3 separate regions of the Homo sapiens genome follow, and all the other regions are linked to region 1. The links are contacts of gene promoters, found by promoter capture Hi-C in blood cells and fetal thymus (Javierre and others, 2016). All regions are on one chromosome and are shown on one strand. Each heading gives the region's core, a stretch centred on a gene start or on the middle of the fragment in contact. The rest is flanking DNA. Distances are from core to core; before and after follow the strand shown.

Region 1 (5,014 bases), core at 1,884-4,383:
TAGCTGGGACTACAGGCACCTGCCACCAAGCCTGGCTAATTTTTTTTTTTTTTTTTTTTTTTGCATTTTCAGTAGAGATGGGGTTTCACCGTGTTAGCCAGGATGGTCTTGATCTCCTGACCTCATGATCCGCCCGCCTCGGCCTCCCAAAGTGCTGGGATGACAGGCGTGAGCCACCGCGCCCGGCCTGCATTACATTTTCTGAGTATTGCTGGTGCATTAGGCCCCCCACTGATTTGAATATATTGATACCGTAACCATGAAAATGTATTTGGTTCAGGGGGCATGGGGGAGATAAGGGAGTTACCTAATTTACTGTTTGTACTAACTGGTTTGTTAACTGTCCCCAAAACTGTGATTTCACATGGTCTATCACCACACTAGAGTCATGCGGATTTACTTTCAAAACCATGCTGTAAATAATCTATATGGCTCATCCTCGATTTCCGATACGGCTGTTTCTCTGGTCAAAAAAAAAAAAAAAATCCCATAAAACCTCAGGTAATGCAAGGTAGATCTGGGAGAGATCCTGATAGGCTGGTTCCCAAATCACTGCACTAGTCTATGTATCTCTATCTATCGATCGATAGATAGAATTTTTTTTTTTTTTTTTTTTTGAGATGGAGTCTCACTCTGTAGCCCAGGCTGGAGTGCAGTGGCATGATCTTGGCTCATTGCAACCTCCGCCTCCTGGGTTCAAGCGATTCTCCTGCCTCAGCCTCCTGAGTGGCTGGGACTACAGGTGCACGCCACCACACCCGGCTAATTTTTGTACTCTTGAGTAGAGACGGGGTTTCACCATATTGGTCAGGCTGGTGTCGAACTCCTGACCTCAGGCGATCCGCCCGCCTCGGCCTCCCAAAGTGCTAGAATTACAGGCGTGAGCCACGGCGCCCCGCCTGCATTAGTCTGTATTTACAATACCTGCATTCTAAGCTTTTCAAGCCACTCAGGACCCTTCCTGGCGGAATGTGGGTTCTGGACTTAAGCAGGACCCTAATGGAAATGTGCAGGAATGGGGATCAAGCCATTCAAGGGGCAGTCACTGAAGACCACTTTCACCTTCTTTCTCAGTCCTTTACTTTCTCCCTTAAAGGCAAGGGAGACCATATATGCTTTTCCCCTCACAACATCTAGTGCCTGAAAAATCTGACCAAGACTGCATTTAAAAACTGAAGTGTAAAGGTATTGGTTATAAGAACAAACAGCAACCAGCTTAGCCTGGCTCAGCACTGGCTGCTCTGAAATTTCATTACCAGACAACTGATGCTCTAAAACCATTCCCCACATTGGTTTGCTCTGTGGCTGGATAAGACCCAAACTTTATCCATACAGTAAGTGTCTCTATACTTCACACATATAGGGTTTCCATCAAATCCCTTTATCGAGTCTACAACCCTCTCCAACTTCAAATTCACTCCAATACAAATCTGATTCTAACCATGCCAGCCATTCCAAAATCATCTCCCTTCTAGAGACTACATTGGCTAATCCCTTTGTTAAACCTGAACACAATTCCAGCTGCTTTTATGACTCATTTGGCCAACTAGAGCCCAGTTACTGGATAACATGCATACACCACCAAGCTGAACTAATTAACACCAGAATGCAGTTTTCCACTGAATCTACCAAGGGCCAAGAACTGCTTTTCCCCAAGGTTCTCTCTCTCTGTACTCAACAGACTGGTGTGGTCCAATATGCTGCGGGCATTCTCTTTCATTTATAGGAGTGCCTCCAACTGCGAAATGTGAGAGTATGATGTGGAAAGGTTCTAGAACTAGATTAACGTACACGGGCTCCAGCTTTGCAAGGACAAAGGTGCACATTTTAGGGAATCCAGTATCAGCCCCAACTGCCTCCACTATCAGGTACTGTGCTATGAGTTTTCCAACATTATGAGGGAGACCCGATCTGTCGGGCCCTTCTAACGAGAAGCTTCGATTTGCAAAGGCTAAAGTGCCTTCATCAGGGTGAGAGGTACACCCAGCGAGGCCACACTAGTCCATCTGACCCCAAAGGCCATGTTCCTGAGCGCCGCGCTCACCATCCCGCCTCTGATCTTTTCTCCCTCGGCCCGGCGTCTCCCGAGAGGCAACCCGATCCCGCCGGAAGCCCAAGAAGGGCCTAGGAAGCGGGCGGAGGCGAGAGCCAGGAGAGCACCCGGGATGCCGGCCGCCGGGATGCCGGACGCAGGAGGCGGTGCCCGGGGAGCAGGGGCTCACCTGTAGGCGGCCACGGCCCGAGTCTGCAGGTATTTCTGGGCGGTCATGACTCCCACGAAGAGAAAGTTCCTGTCGCGCGGGCCGCCATCTGGGTCCGAGCCGGGCGGCCAGAGCTGCGCCCCGCGCGCATCGCCGCGCGCCCCGCCGGCCTGGGAAGCCGCCGCCTGCCCGGACCGGCAGCCCTCGGGGCTGGCGCGGCGCCGTGGGCCCGCTCGCTTCAGCTCGGAAGCCCGGGGCAGGACGAGCCGCGAGGCCAGCACGAAGCCCAGGACGAGCCCGAGCAGCACGCTGAGCCAGGCGCGCCGGCCGCGCGCGGCCATGCCCGCGCCGCTCCGCCCGCCGGGCCGCCGCCGCAGGCTCCGCGCGCCCTCAGCCCGCTGCCCCCGCCCGCGGAGGCCAGCCCGCCCTAGCGCCGCGAGGCCCGGCCCGGGCAGCGCCGCCGCCGCCGCGGGCCCGCCGCGCCCATCGCGGCCCCCGAGCCGCCCGCAGGCCCCGCGCCGGCGCTTTGTTCCGCACGCCCGCCCCCGCCGCCGCGGCCTGCGCCTTTAAGAGGGGACCATGCCCGGCGCGCGCTAGCGGCGGCTCGGGCGCGAGGTGGCGGCGGCTCCTCCCGCTCGCGCGCGGGGACGCGGGGCCGGCACGACGGCGACGACGGCGGCGGCAGACGAGTCCGGGCTCCCGTCCCGCCCTGCCCGCGTCCTCCGGCTGGCTGGGCTCGGTTCGCACGGCGCCTGTCCCCGTCCTCTTCGTAGCCGGCGCCGCCGCCGCAGCTGCACATCCTCCGGCTTAGCTCGCCATTGCAACAGGAGCCCCTCACGTCACGCACGGCGCGTTATGAAGTGGCCCCGCCGGCGGCGAGCCGTGGCCCCTCTCGGGATCCGTCCGCGCCGCGCGATTGGCGCAAAAGTGAATGAGGGGCGGTTCACGTGGCCGAAGTTTGACCAAAAAAAAAAAAAGCCCTCTCGGGCGCCCCGCCCGCGCGGTCTGCGACTGGAGCTGGCGGGCGGAGGGGGCGTGGGCCCCCGCCCGGCGCCCGCGGGGCCGGAGCTGCCCGTGATCCGCACCTAGCACCCGGCGCAAGGGCGTCCCCGCGAGGACGGCCGCTTCCCGCACCGCGGCGCCCGGGCGCGAATCTCGGGAGCCAGCCTTGCAGTGGGGGCTTCTCGGCCCCCAGACTCCACGCTGCGCACGTTCCTCCCGCACGGGCCGTCCTCGCTGCACCCCACGGCCACGCCCTTCCTGCCGCCGGGCCGGCCCCGCGCTCCCGGCCCCGCGCTCCCGACCACACTGCAGCTTTGTCCGCAGTCCCGCGGCCGCACGCAGGGAACAGCCGTCCCGGAGCCCTGGGGACGTGCGCGCCTGCGAGTGGACCGTGAATTCAGTTACCTTGTTCCCTGTTGCTAGTTTCTACGCTAAATAAGAAGAAGAAGAAGAAAAAGCCATCTTTAATACTTAAGGTCCACGCTTCTCATACAGTACTAGCATTTAATGGATCTCGAAGACAAGGAAAATGAAGTTAATGCCCTGGATGGTAAACCCTACTTTCATTTACATACTGTGTGGGCAGATAGCCGGCTAGTACCCCCAGCCTGGGACTTTGTCCCTACTTTAATATAGTCCGTCTGTAAAAGTGCCGTGGATTTCTAAAGACGGATTTTGGGTCCCAGATCCTCTACTCTGGATTTTAAGTTTTATACATTTCCTCTGCAATACTTCAGCTAAGGCAGCAAAAGCGGAGGTCTCCATACAACGAAAGTTTGTGTAGAGTTTCAGTCTTGTTACTTAGTCACCAGTATATTGGGGTTTTCTAATGAAACTTTTGAAGGGCAAAGTGTTTCCCTGGGCCTGAGAAGTTACCTGCATTGAATCAAATAAACACATGCCTGGGGCAATCCTTGGATCTTTCTTCATTGTTGACCAAATGGTTGAAATACTATCACACAGTTTAAAATGCCTGTGGGAGCTTCAGATACCTTCTCGGCACCTGAATGGTGGTCACTCTTGTTTATTCTTTGGATATTACCACTTTCTTTGACACTTGTGATTTATATTAAAAATAGTTCATTACCTACCTTCCCACAGAGCCCCTCCCTAAGGGGTGATCCACATCTAAAAATAAAATACTCATTATGCAGTGAATACAGGATTCCAGCAGTGGTCTTGGGAAAAATACAGAACATACAACCATGAATTACAGGCTCGAAAACCATCGAAAAAGGTTTCCACTAAGACCATAAACCACAAATGCCGAGGAGTCACCAGATCCCCCAAATTCAGCAGCCCCATCATTCACAGTGATTTACATGAAGTACGAATCTGGCCAGATTCAGATGTTCAATTTTGTAGCATATTCAACGATTTCAGTATTTTCTAACCTGCTTTAGACTTACCTAGTTTTCTTCGAAACTAGTGTCCAGTGAAAAGCTGGCCGGGCGCGGTGGCTCACGCCTGTAAACCCAGCACTCTGGGAGGCTGAGGCGGGCGGATCGCCTGAGGTCAGGAGTTCGAGACCAACCTGACCAACATGGAGAAACCCCGACTCTACTAAAAATACAAAATTAGCCGGGGGTGGTGGTGCATGCCTGTAATCCCAGCTACTCGGGAGGCTGAGGCAGGAGAATCGCTTGAACCCGGGAGGTGGAGGTTGCTGTGAGCCGAGATCGTGCCATTGCATTGCACTGCAGCCTGGGCGACAACAGCGAAACTCCGTCTCAAGGAAAAAAAAAAAAAAAGTATATAAATATCTGATGGGAATAATATTCTGAGGATGCCAAATATTTTGTCCTCCTCAA
Region 2 (5,014 bases), core at 1,364-3,863, 280 kb before region 1:
GGTGAGAGCATAGTGGTATCTCATTGTGGTTTTAATTTGCATTTCCCTGATGACTAATGACATTGAGCTTTTTGAATATTTTTTTGCTGTTTAAATCTTTGCCCTCTCTCTTTCTTTCTTCCTTTTCTTTTTCTTTCTTTCTTTCTTTTTCTTTCTTTCTTTCTTTCTTTCCTTCCTTCCTTCCTTCCTTCCTTCCTCCCTTCCCTTCCCTTCCCTTTTCCTTTCTTTCTTTCCTTCCTTCCCTTCCCCTTTCCTTCCCCTTTCCTTCCCCTTCCCCTTCCCCTTCCCCTTCCCTTCCTTTCCCTTCCCTTCCTTCTGTTTTGTTTTTTTGAGACAGGGTCTTGTTCTGTCACCCAGGCCAGTGGAGTGCAGTGGTGTAGTCACAGCTCATTGAAGCCTTGACCTCCTGGGCTCAAGCCATCCTCCTACATCTCAGCTTCCTGAGTAGCTGGGACTACAGGTGTGCACCACCATGCCCGGCTAATTTTTAAAATGTTTTGTAGAGACAGGGTCTACTTGTTTCCCAGACTGGTCTCAAACTCCTAGGCTCAATGGATACACCCACCTTGGCCTTCCAAATTGCTGGGATTACAGGTGTGAGCCACCAGGTCCAGCCTGCTCATTTTCAATTGGATTGTTTGTCTTTTTATTATGGAGTTATACGAGTTTTTATATTCTAGATACCATTTATTTTCAGATATGTTTTGAAAATACGTTATTGTAGTCTATAATTTGCCTATTTAACTTTAAATGGGGTCTTTTGAGGGGCAGAAGTTTTAAATTTTGATGAAGCCTAATTTAGCAATTTTTCCTTTCCTGGTTATTGTTTTCTGTGTCCCATGTAAGAAAGTAAGTAAAGACTTACTCTCAAGTCATGAAGATAATCTCCGCTATGTTTTCCTAGAAGCTTCATAGTTTTAGCCTTTATGTTTAGGTCCATGATTCATCTCAGTTATTTTTTCTTTTTTTTCAAGTTTTTTTTTCAAGTTCAGGGGTACATGAGCAGGATGTGCTTGTTTGTTACATAGGTAAACATGTGCCATGGGGATTTACTGCACAGATCATCCCATCAGCCAGGTATTAAGCCCAGCATCCATTAGCTATTCTTCCTTATGCTCTTTCCCCACCCTCCCTCACCACAGGTGCCCAGTGTGTGTTGTTCCCCTCTTGTTTCCATGTATTCTCATTGGTCAGCTCCCACTTATAAGTGAGAACATGTGGTATTTGGTTTTCTGTTCCTGTGTTAGCTTGCTGAGGATAATGGCTTCCAACTCCATCCATGTCCCTGCAAAGTGATAATCTTATTCCTTTTTATGGCTGCATAGTATTCTATGGTGTATATATGTATCATATTTTCTCTGCTTTTTTCTTCTTTTTTTTTTGAGACAGAGTTTTGCTCTTGTTGACTAGGCTGAAGTGCAGTGGTGCTACCTCAGCTCACTGCAACCTCTGCCTCCCAGGTTCAAGCGATTCTCCTGCCTCAGCCTTCATAATAGCTGAGATTACAGGTGCCCACCACCACGCTGGGCTAATTTTTTGTATTTTTAGTAGAGACGGGGTTTCACCATGTTGGCCTGGCTGGTCTCGTACTCCTGGCCTCAGGTGATCCACCTGCCTTGGCCTCCCAAAGTGCTGGGATTATAGGCATGGGCCACCGCATGAGCCACCGCACCCAGCCACCACATTTTCTTTATCCGGTCCATCACTGATGGGCATTTGGGTTGATTCCATGACTTTGCTATTGTAAATAGTGCTGTAATGAACATGTGTGTGCCATCTCAAGATGATATTTGTATATGGTGAGAAGTAGGGGTCAGGGCTGCTTTTTATTAAATGAGGGTGTCCAGTTGTTCCAGCACTTTTTACTGAAAAGACTTTGCTTTTCCCATTGTACTGCTTTGGCTCCCTTGTCAAAAATCAATTGAATGTACAAGCACAGGTCTATTTTTCAACCCTCTGTTCTGTCCCTTGGAGCCATTTGTCTATACCAGTACCATACTGTCTTGATTACTATAGCTTTGTAGTTTGTTTTTTGGAAGGATAATGGCTTCCAACTCCATCCTTTCCAAGTCTTGAAATCAGGTAGTGTACATTCTCCAACTCTCTTCTTTTTCAAGATTGCTTTGGCTATTCTAGGTCTTTCAAATTTCCATATAAATTTAAGAATCAGACTGTCAATTTCTATCCCGCAAAAATGACCCTATTGGAATCATAGTTGGGATTATTGAATCTATAGATAAAATCAAAGAGAATTAACATCTTAACAGTACTGATTCTTCCAATCCTTGAAGATGGATGTCTTCCCACTTATTTAGGTCTTGTTCAATTTCTCTCAGCAATGTTTTATGTTTTCAGCGTACAGATCTTGCCCATCTTTTGTTACATTTTTTTCTAAGAATGTAATTTTATACTATCATAAACTATTTTTTCAATTTTTCAATGTTAACTGCTATTATGTGATTCATTTTTGTGAGGTGTATGTTTGTGAGCCAACCGTGCTATGCATTTACATTTAAAAAGAAAAACAAGGCCAGGCGCAGCGGCTCACGCCTGTAATCCCAGCACTCTGTGAGGCTGAGGTGGGTGGATCACTTGAGGTCGAGAGTTTGAGACCAGCCTGGCCAACATGGTGAAACCCCATCTCTACTAAAAATACAAAAATTAGCTGGACTTGGTGGCGTGCACCTGTAATCCCAGCTACTCAGGAGGTTGAGGCATGAGAATCACTTGAACCCGGGAGGTGGAGATTGCAGTGAGCCGAGATCGCGCCACTGCACACCAGCCTTGGAAGCAGAGTGAAACTGTGTCTCAAAAAAAAAAAAAAAGAAAAGAAAAAGAAAAAGAAAAAAGAAGAAGAAAATCAATCCAAAGCCTGTCTTATTCATCCTTTCAGAGAGGCAGCACAAAGATGGGTTGGGTTTAGCTTGAGAGCTGGGAGACCAAACTTCTGTCCCAGTTTGCCTCTACTGGCTGCGTGAACTTGGCCAAGGATGATAGTGTTGAAGTCAAAATAAAAATGTAGAGGTGAATTTTTATTTTTATTTTTTATTTGTACACATTTGTGGGGTGTATGTGACATTTTGTTATGTGTATATAGTATGTGGTGATCCAGTCAGGGCATTTAGGGTGTCCATCACCTGAATACAGTACATTTTTGTTAACTATAGTCACCCTACTCTGCTATCAAACATTGAATTTATTCCTTCTTACTGTATGCTTGTACCCTTTAACCCACTTCTGTTCGTCCTCCCTGCTCCGACACTCACCCTTCTCAGTCTCTGTTAGCTGTTTTTCCCATTTTTCCAGTCTTTGCCTCCATGGGATCAAATTTTTAGCTCCCACAAATAAGTGAGAACATGGAATGTTTGTCTTTTTGTGCCTGCTTATTTCACTCAAGATAATGACCTCCAGTTCCATCCCTGGCTGTTGCAAATGACAAAAGAATTTTTTTTTTTTTTAGACAGAGTTTCGCTCTGTCACCCAGGCTGGAGTGCAGTGGTGCGATCTCAGCTCACTGCTACCTCAGGCTCCTGGGTTCAAGTGATCCTCGTGCCTCAGCCACCTGAGTAGCTGGGATTACAGGCGCGTGCCACCACACCCGGCTAATTTTTGTGTCTTCAGTAGAGACGGGGTTTCACCATGTTGGCCAGGCTGGTCTCGAACTCCTGACCTCAAGTAATCTGCCTGCCTCGGACTCCCAAAGTGCTGGGATTACAGGCATAAGCCACCACACCCAGCCTCAAAAGGATTTTAAAATCTAATGTTTTCTTGGGATATAAGAATTGTAATTTGGGATATATATATATATATATGAGAGAGAGAGAGAGAGAGAGAGAGAGAGTGTGTGTGTGTGTGTGTGTGTGTGTGTGTGTGTGTGTGTTTTGGTATGTTTGAAGAATAAAGAGAAGGTTGGCAGTTTTGTAATAAAAAGGAGAAATGTTATGTGTGTTTTTCAAGAAAACTTATTAGTATTAGCAAGGTTTTGGAGAGTTGGCAAGTTATGATGGGTGAGTGACAGTTGTGGGTAAAGCTAGTTTTAAAGTCGTTTTAGTAGTTATTAGATAAAACTGGTTTTAGTTGTGGTAGGCATTTTTAGTAGTCGGACTTGTAGAGAATCATGTTTTTGGAGTCATGTTATATGCCCCGAGTGCTTTTTCTTCTTGGCTTCTCAGCTCCGTTTTAGTTGGGTGTAAAAACAATAACCCAATTTGCTTGGTCACCTTTCACAACAGTATTCTTTCCCTATTTCTGCTATCACTCCACACAGTCAGAATTCAACTGCTCATCCATCGCAGTCTTTCCGTAATACCTATGGAGAGAAAGCTTTTTACTGTTGTTCCCTAACCTCTTTGGAAATCTGGTAGAAGCTTTGAATTTTGTCCTCGAAAAACTGTACACACACACACACACACACCCAGTTTTGTGTACAATTTTAGGGTGTTCAGGGAACTTCGGAAGCCTGTCAGCCTTTCGGGGTCCACAGGCCCTCACTGTGAACCCCTTCTAGAGTGGAAGCTCGGGGAGGGCGAGAGGCCGCCTTCCTTTCCCTCGGCTCCTCCTGCACCCAGCGAGGGCTCGGCCTGCCGTGGCCGCCCCGTGAGTGACCGCCGCTTTTGCTGAACGGCCCGGGCGCTGGGTCGCGGCCTCCCGCAAGGCTGGCCTCTCCTCCCGAGTGGCAGCAGGTGCTCGGATGACCGGGAGCAGCCCACGCTCTGGTGAAGCAGCGCGACCCGAGGCCCGGTGTCGTCCCCCATCGTTACGCAGCGCGTTCGTGCCAGGGCAGGTCTGGAGTGAGGGCGGCTGATTTAAATCCCACGCCCTTCGTGGGGTTTTCTGGGCAGGGCGGGAAAGCGTCTGGATGTCCACACCCCCGGGAGGTGGCCTGTCTTTCCCCCGTGGGCACCGCAGCGGGACAGCGTGGCTGAGACCCGCGGCTCTCTCGCCAAAGCCCCTGCGCCTCCGCTGCTGTCGGCGAGGTCGGCCCGGCCGCTCCCCCGCGGGCCGCTGTCCCCGG
Region 3 (5,014 bases), core at 1,162-3,661, 260 kb before region 1:
CGTGGTGGTCTTGGCTCAGAAACACTGCACCAGTCTAGGCAGGCATCGCTACAGCTATAGGGTGAGGCACACCCTAGCCATGGTCTTTGGGATTTGAGATTTTGCTTGGGAGCCAGGGCCCACCTCTTGGGTGGGAGAACATGCAGTCACCCAGGGCCCTGCACCTAGAAGGGCCCACGTTACGTTTAATACTCTGTACTCACTATCTTAAAATGTTTCATGATTTTTAAACAAGAAGCCCCATTCTTTTCATTTTGCATTGGGCCTCACCCCTTATATAGTGGTCTTGTTTGAGGGTTTCCAGCTGTGGGCTTTGATAGATCTGTGCTCAGCGTTGGTTCCAAGCTAGTGTTCCCCTCATGTGTCTGAACAGAATGAGGTTATGGGCAGAAATCAGGGCAATTTTAGGGCCCATGAGAAGCATACTAAGACAAGACATAGGAGGGCAGAGAGGAGCTTGGGTGCTCCTGAGGAGCCAAAGGCTGACCTGCCTCTTCTCGGGGAGCCCCAAGATTAGCTCTGTTCTAGCCCTGAAGAGTCTGCACCAGCTGACTCCGTCACCTAATGTTAGCTAATATTTATTGAATACTGTCAAGTGCTGAAAACTGTGTAGAACGTGAGAGACAGATAATTTTTTTAAAGATTTTCCCAGCCATTTAGTACCTCCTGGCCAAGCAGGGGAAATTGAGGCAGAAAGGAGTAACACTGTGCAATGTAACTACACTGAGGTTGAAGTATTTTTACGCAGAGGTCTGGGAGCACACATCAGGGGGCAGGGTAGGGTCTCCGAAGGGAGGCTGACATCTGACCTGGGCTTTGCAGAGTGAATAGGAGTTTACTTGGCAGACAAGTGAAGGAAGGACTTGGGTTGCCTGCTTTTGCAGAGCAGGAAGTGTGGCTGAACCTCGTCATGGTTTTCAACTGCTCCCAGGAGCATCGTATCTTCAGCTCAACTCTGAGCAAAGCTGCTGAGGACTGAAGGATTTCAGACCATTGTGGTGGGCTTTGCAGAAAGTGCAGAGATGGGCAAAACAGTGTGTACCCATCCCTGCACTTCCTGCAAAGGAGTTCCCAAGCTGGAAGGGAAGTCAGCCATGGTCAGGAGTAAGTCAAGACAAGAAGACAAACAAGAGTCAGGCTGGACATGCTGGCTCATGCCTGTAATCCCAACAATTTGGGAGGCCAAGGCAAGAGGATCACTTGAGCCCAGGATTTCATGACCAGCCTGGGTAACATAGTGAGACCCTGTATCTACAAAAAAAAAAAAAAATTTAAATTAACCAGGCATGGTGGCACATGCCTATATTCCCAGGTACTTGGGAGGGTGAAGTGGGAGAATGGCTTAAGCCCAGGAGTCCAAGGCTGCAGTCAGCTATGATCACATTACTGCACTCCAGGCTGAGATAGAAGGAGACCCTGTCTCAAACAAAAAACAAAAACAAGAAGCAGCTAGAGAACAAAGGAGGGTTTGAGAAGAAGAGGGATGAGAGGTTGATGGGATGCATTCTTTGAAGCACGTTGTTATGTGATTCCTGGTCTCTGAAGCTGAGCAGGGAGGAAGAGGGGCTCCTCTGAGTGTCGTTGGCCTTAGGCTGTAGAGAGTACCTGTAGGGGTTTTGTGTGGTTAAGAGAGCACCCTTTGATTTTAGACAAAGCAAGGTTTAAGTCTTGACCTTGCTATTTACTAACTGTGGGACCTTCAAGAAGTTTCCCTGCCAGGTGTGTCCCACAGACCCTGGCTGATGGATGAAATGAGTACTCAGACACAGGTGTACGGTGTAAGAGCAGCTGAGTCACTGCCTGGCTCTGTTGGCCAGAGAGCAGCCCGAAGAAGCTAGAGCTGCTTGCTTTCATTCAGTGCAGGCACAATGCCGAAAACCTGGAGCCAACACAACCTGTAGGTAATTAACATTTATTGTTCCCCTTTCAGGGAACATCAAGCCAGCAGATGATCAAAGGTCAGTTCCTGGTCAACATAAGTAAACAAGCCTGTTTAAGATACATTCCCCTACACTCCTTGCCCTCTGCCTTCAGCTGTTCTCCCCCAGGGCTCTGCAGAAGCTTCCAAACTTTCAGAAGGTTTGTGTCCTTTCCCTGTAGTTTTTCCTACGACTCTGACCAATCTCCTACATTTCCAAACCTCTCTGAGCTTTGGTTTCCTCATCTTAAAATCATGGTCCTGAAATATAATGCCTGCCTCCAAAGACTGACACATCCCCATCTCAACAGAAGTTACTAGCATGGTTACTGTGTTTCTCTTACCCAGATATTCTTGTGTAAGTGGATTAGGGGTCACTTATTTTCTGTTAACATACCTACAAATCATTAATTCTGGTTAACAGTAGAGGGAGAAGAAGGGATATTTACTTGGCACTGGCTCCAGCCTCAGCCCTATGCTACATGCTTTATTTGGTGAATACAGGGCCATCCTGACCCCGGTTTCCTGATCAATGTCCTGTCGCGAAGGAGAGAGTCACTCTCTCCTCACTTGGGAGCACTTTGATCCCTAGGACTATGTGCCTCTGGAAATGAGGCAGTGTTATGATGCATTTGGGAAGTGTCCCTGCAGAAGATGAGGTCATTTTTCCATGGCAACTAGACCCAAAAGATATTGCACTATTTTGAACTTGAAGATATTGTAACATTTCAGCCCACACTGCCCCCGTCAATTCAATGTGCTAAGTGTTATTTCATCCTGGAATTAAGTAGGTGGTTCTACTGGGGAGAAATTGTCACTTTTAGGCCTGACAGATCTTTCACCAAAGCTTTTATTATTATTATTCATGAAAGTAATATATGTATATTATAGATAATTTTAAAATGTGGGAAAGTGTCAGTACTTTAATAATACAATGACACAACATCATGAGTTAGGGTTTATTGATCCAGGCACTTGACATGCATTTTGTGATGTAGTCCTCACATTAAACTTGGAAGAATGAGTATTATTATTCCGATTTTACCAACAGGCAAACTGAAACAGAGAGAGATTAAGAAATGTGTCCAAAATTACATACTAAATTATTTTATTTCTAAAATGCCTGTCTCCAAAGTTCATACTCCTGCATGTAATGTTACCCTAGGGGAGGGGTGAGGGCAGGGGAGAGCCCAGAGAAAATACCACAATGCTGGGGTAGTTGTTTCTAGTCTTATTTCCACACACCCATTTTTTATTTGGCTAAGATCATGCTGGATACGCCATTTTTAATCCTCCATTTCATCACTCGGCATTATCTGACAAGCAGGTGGGTGACTGATGTGGGGAAATGTCATATGCAATTCAGAGAGACTATTCCAGAAAACACTATCAACTCAACAGAAGCAACTTTCAGCTGGAAACAGGACAGCTGGGTTTTGTTTTGTTTTGTTTAACTTTTACTTTAGGTTCAGGGGTACATATGCAGGTTTGTTACGTGGGTAAACTGCATGTTGCCGGGGTTCGGTATGCAGATTATTTCGTCACCTGGGTAATAAGCATGGGACTCAATAGGTAATTTTTTAACCTTCCCCCTTTTCCCTCCCTCCACCATCAAGTAGTCCCCAGTGTCTATTGTTCCCTTCTTTGTGTCCACGTGCATTCAATGTTTAGCTCCCCCTTATAAGTGATAACATGCAGTATTTGGTTTTCTGTTGTTGCGTTAGTTCACTTAGGATAATGACCTCCAGCTCCATCCATGATGCTGCAAAGTACATGATCTCATTCTTTTTTATGGCTGTATAGTATTCCATGGTGCAAATGTACCACATTTTATTTAACCAGTCCATTGCTACTAGCGGTCTAAGGGAAGAGCAGAGTGGGAACAAACAGCACCCTTCAGTGGCACTTTCCCTTTGTCCTGCCATCTCCTGCCAGGTCCCTGCAGTCCCCAGCGGCTTCTGAACTGGATGCTGGCCTTGGCTTGCCAGCGAGGGCACCTGGGGGTTGTGAAGCTCCTGGTCCTGACGCACGGGGCTGACCCGGAGAGCTACGCTGTCAGGAAGAATGAGTTCCCTGTCATCGTGCGCTTGCCCCTGTATGCGGCCATCAAGTCAGGTGGGTTTCCCCACTACCCTGAGTCAACCCTGACCGTGCAAACCATCTCAGCCTCCAGATGTGGGACTGTGTCTTTATTCTCACTCTTGGCTCTCAAATCACCTCTGTGAGGAGACTTTTGCAACTCCTGTTCTATGTTTCTTTTTCAAAATATCTGCACCCTTCCTCATTTCCTCCTTACTTGCCCCCGCAAGGGGATTTCAGTGACAGAGACTGACTGTGGCTAATGGGACTGTTGTACGAGGCACTCCAAAGGGCAAAGCCCCACAGAAATTCTCCCACTAACAGAAACTTGATGCACCAAGGGAAGTAAATAGAGAAGTCCAACATGCACAAGTACCTTTTCAGTTTCCATTCCACATATCAGAGTCTGCCCTTCCAACGACTGTGACACTAGCATCTGCATGCCCTTAGCTTTTTGGTTTTGTTCCTTTAGGGAATGAAGACATTGCAATATTCCTGCTTCGGCATGGGGCCTATTTCTGTTCCTACATCTTGCTGGATAGTCCTGACCCCAGCAAACATCTGCTGAGAAAGTACTTCATTGAAGCCAGTCCCTTGCCCAGCAGTTATCCGGGAAAAACAGTGAGTAGTCACTGCCTGTGGAGTGTGTTTTAGTTCCTTTTGTGCTGCTGTAACAGAATCCTGCAGACTGGGTAATTTATAATAAACAGAAATATATTTGGCTTACAGGTCTGGAGATTGAGAAGTCCAAGAGCATAGTGCTGGTATCTGGTGAGGGCCTTCATGCAGTGATATGAAGGTGGAGGGCAAGAGACCAACAGACTGAGAGAGGGAAGAACTCACTTTTATAACAACCCACCCTCAAAATAACAAACCCACTTCCACAATAACAACATCAATCCATTTATGAGGGTGGGGCCTTCTTGGCCTAATCACCTCTTAATGGTCCCATCCTTATCACAACAGCAATTACATTTCATCATGAGTTTTGAAGGGGACATTCAAGCTATAGCAGGG

Evidence for each region. The method cuts DNA at HindIII sites, captures the fragments that hold promoters and counts their contacts. A CHiCAGO score of 5 or more calls a contact.
Region 2: a contact is called between a fragment that was not itself captured here and the fragment with the promoter of CHSY1 in region 1, in 3 of 17 cell types (M2 macrophages, M0 macrophages and endothelial precursors). The highest score is 6.4, in M2 macrophages.
Region 3: a fragment that was not itself captured here is called in contact with the fragment with the promoter of CHSY1 in region 1 in 3 of 17 cell types (M0 macrophages, M2 macrophages and endothelial precursors); the score reaches 7.5 in M0 macrophages.

The regions. Positions count from the first base shown.
Region 1 is chr15:101,248,915-101,253,928 of GRCh38, forward strand. CHSY1 (chondroitin sulfate synthase 1) reads right to left here and starts at 3,134. Exons shown (of 3, transcript NM_014918.5): 1 at 2,223-3,134. The coding sequence starts at 2,542. RefSeq lists silencers at 2,119-2,548, 2,739-3,048, 3,219-3,598. The HindIII fragment of the contact is 7,881 bases long and covers 1,934-5,014 here.
Region 2 is chr15:100,968,524-100,973,537 of GRCh38, forward strand. The region is part of intron 2 of LRRK1 (leucine rich repeat kinase 1); the gene reads left to right. Among named protein-coding and RNA genes, the nearest start is that of LRRK1, 52 kb to the left of the region's middle. RefSeq lists an enhancer at 4,664-4,753. The HindIII fragment of the contact is 3,416 bases long and covers 906-4,321 here.
Region 3 is chr15:100,984,781-100,989,794 of GRCh38, forward strand. LRRK1 (leucine rich repeat kinase 1) reads left to right here. Exons shown (of 34, transcript NM_024652.6): 5 at 3,854-4,033; 6 at 4,470-4,618. Among named protein-coding and RNA genes, the nearest start is that of LRRK1, 68 kb to the left of the region's middle. The HindIII fragment of the contact is 704 bases long and covers 2,060-2,763 here.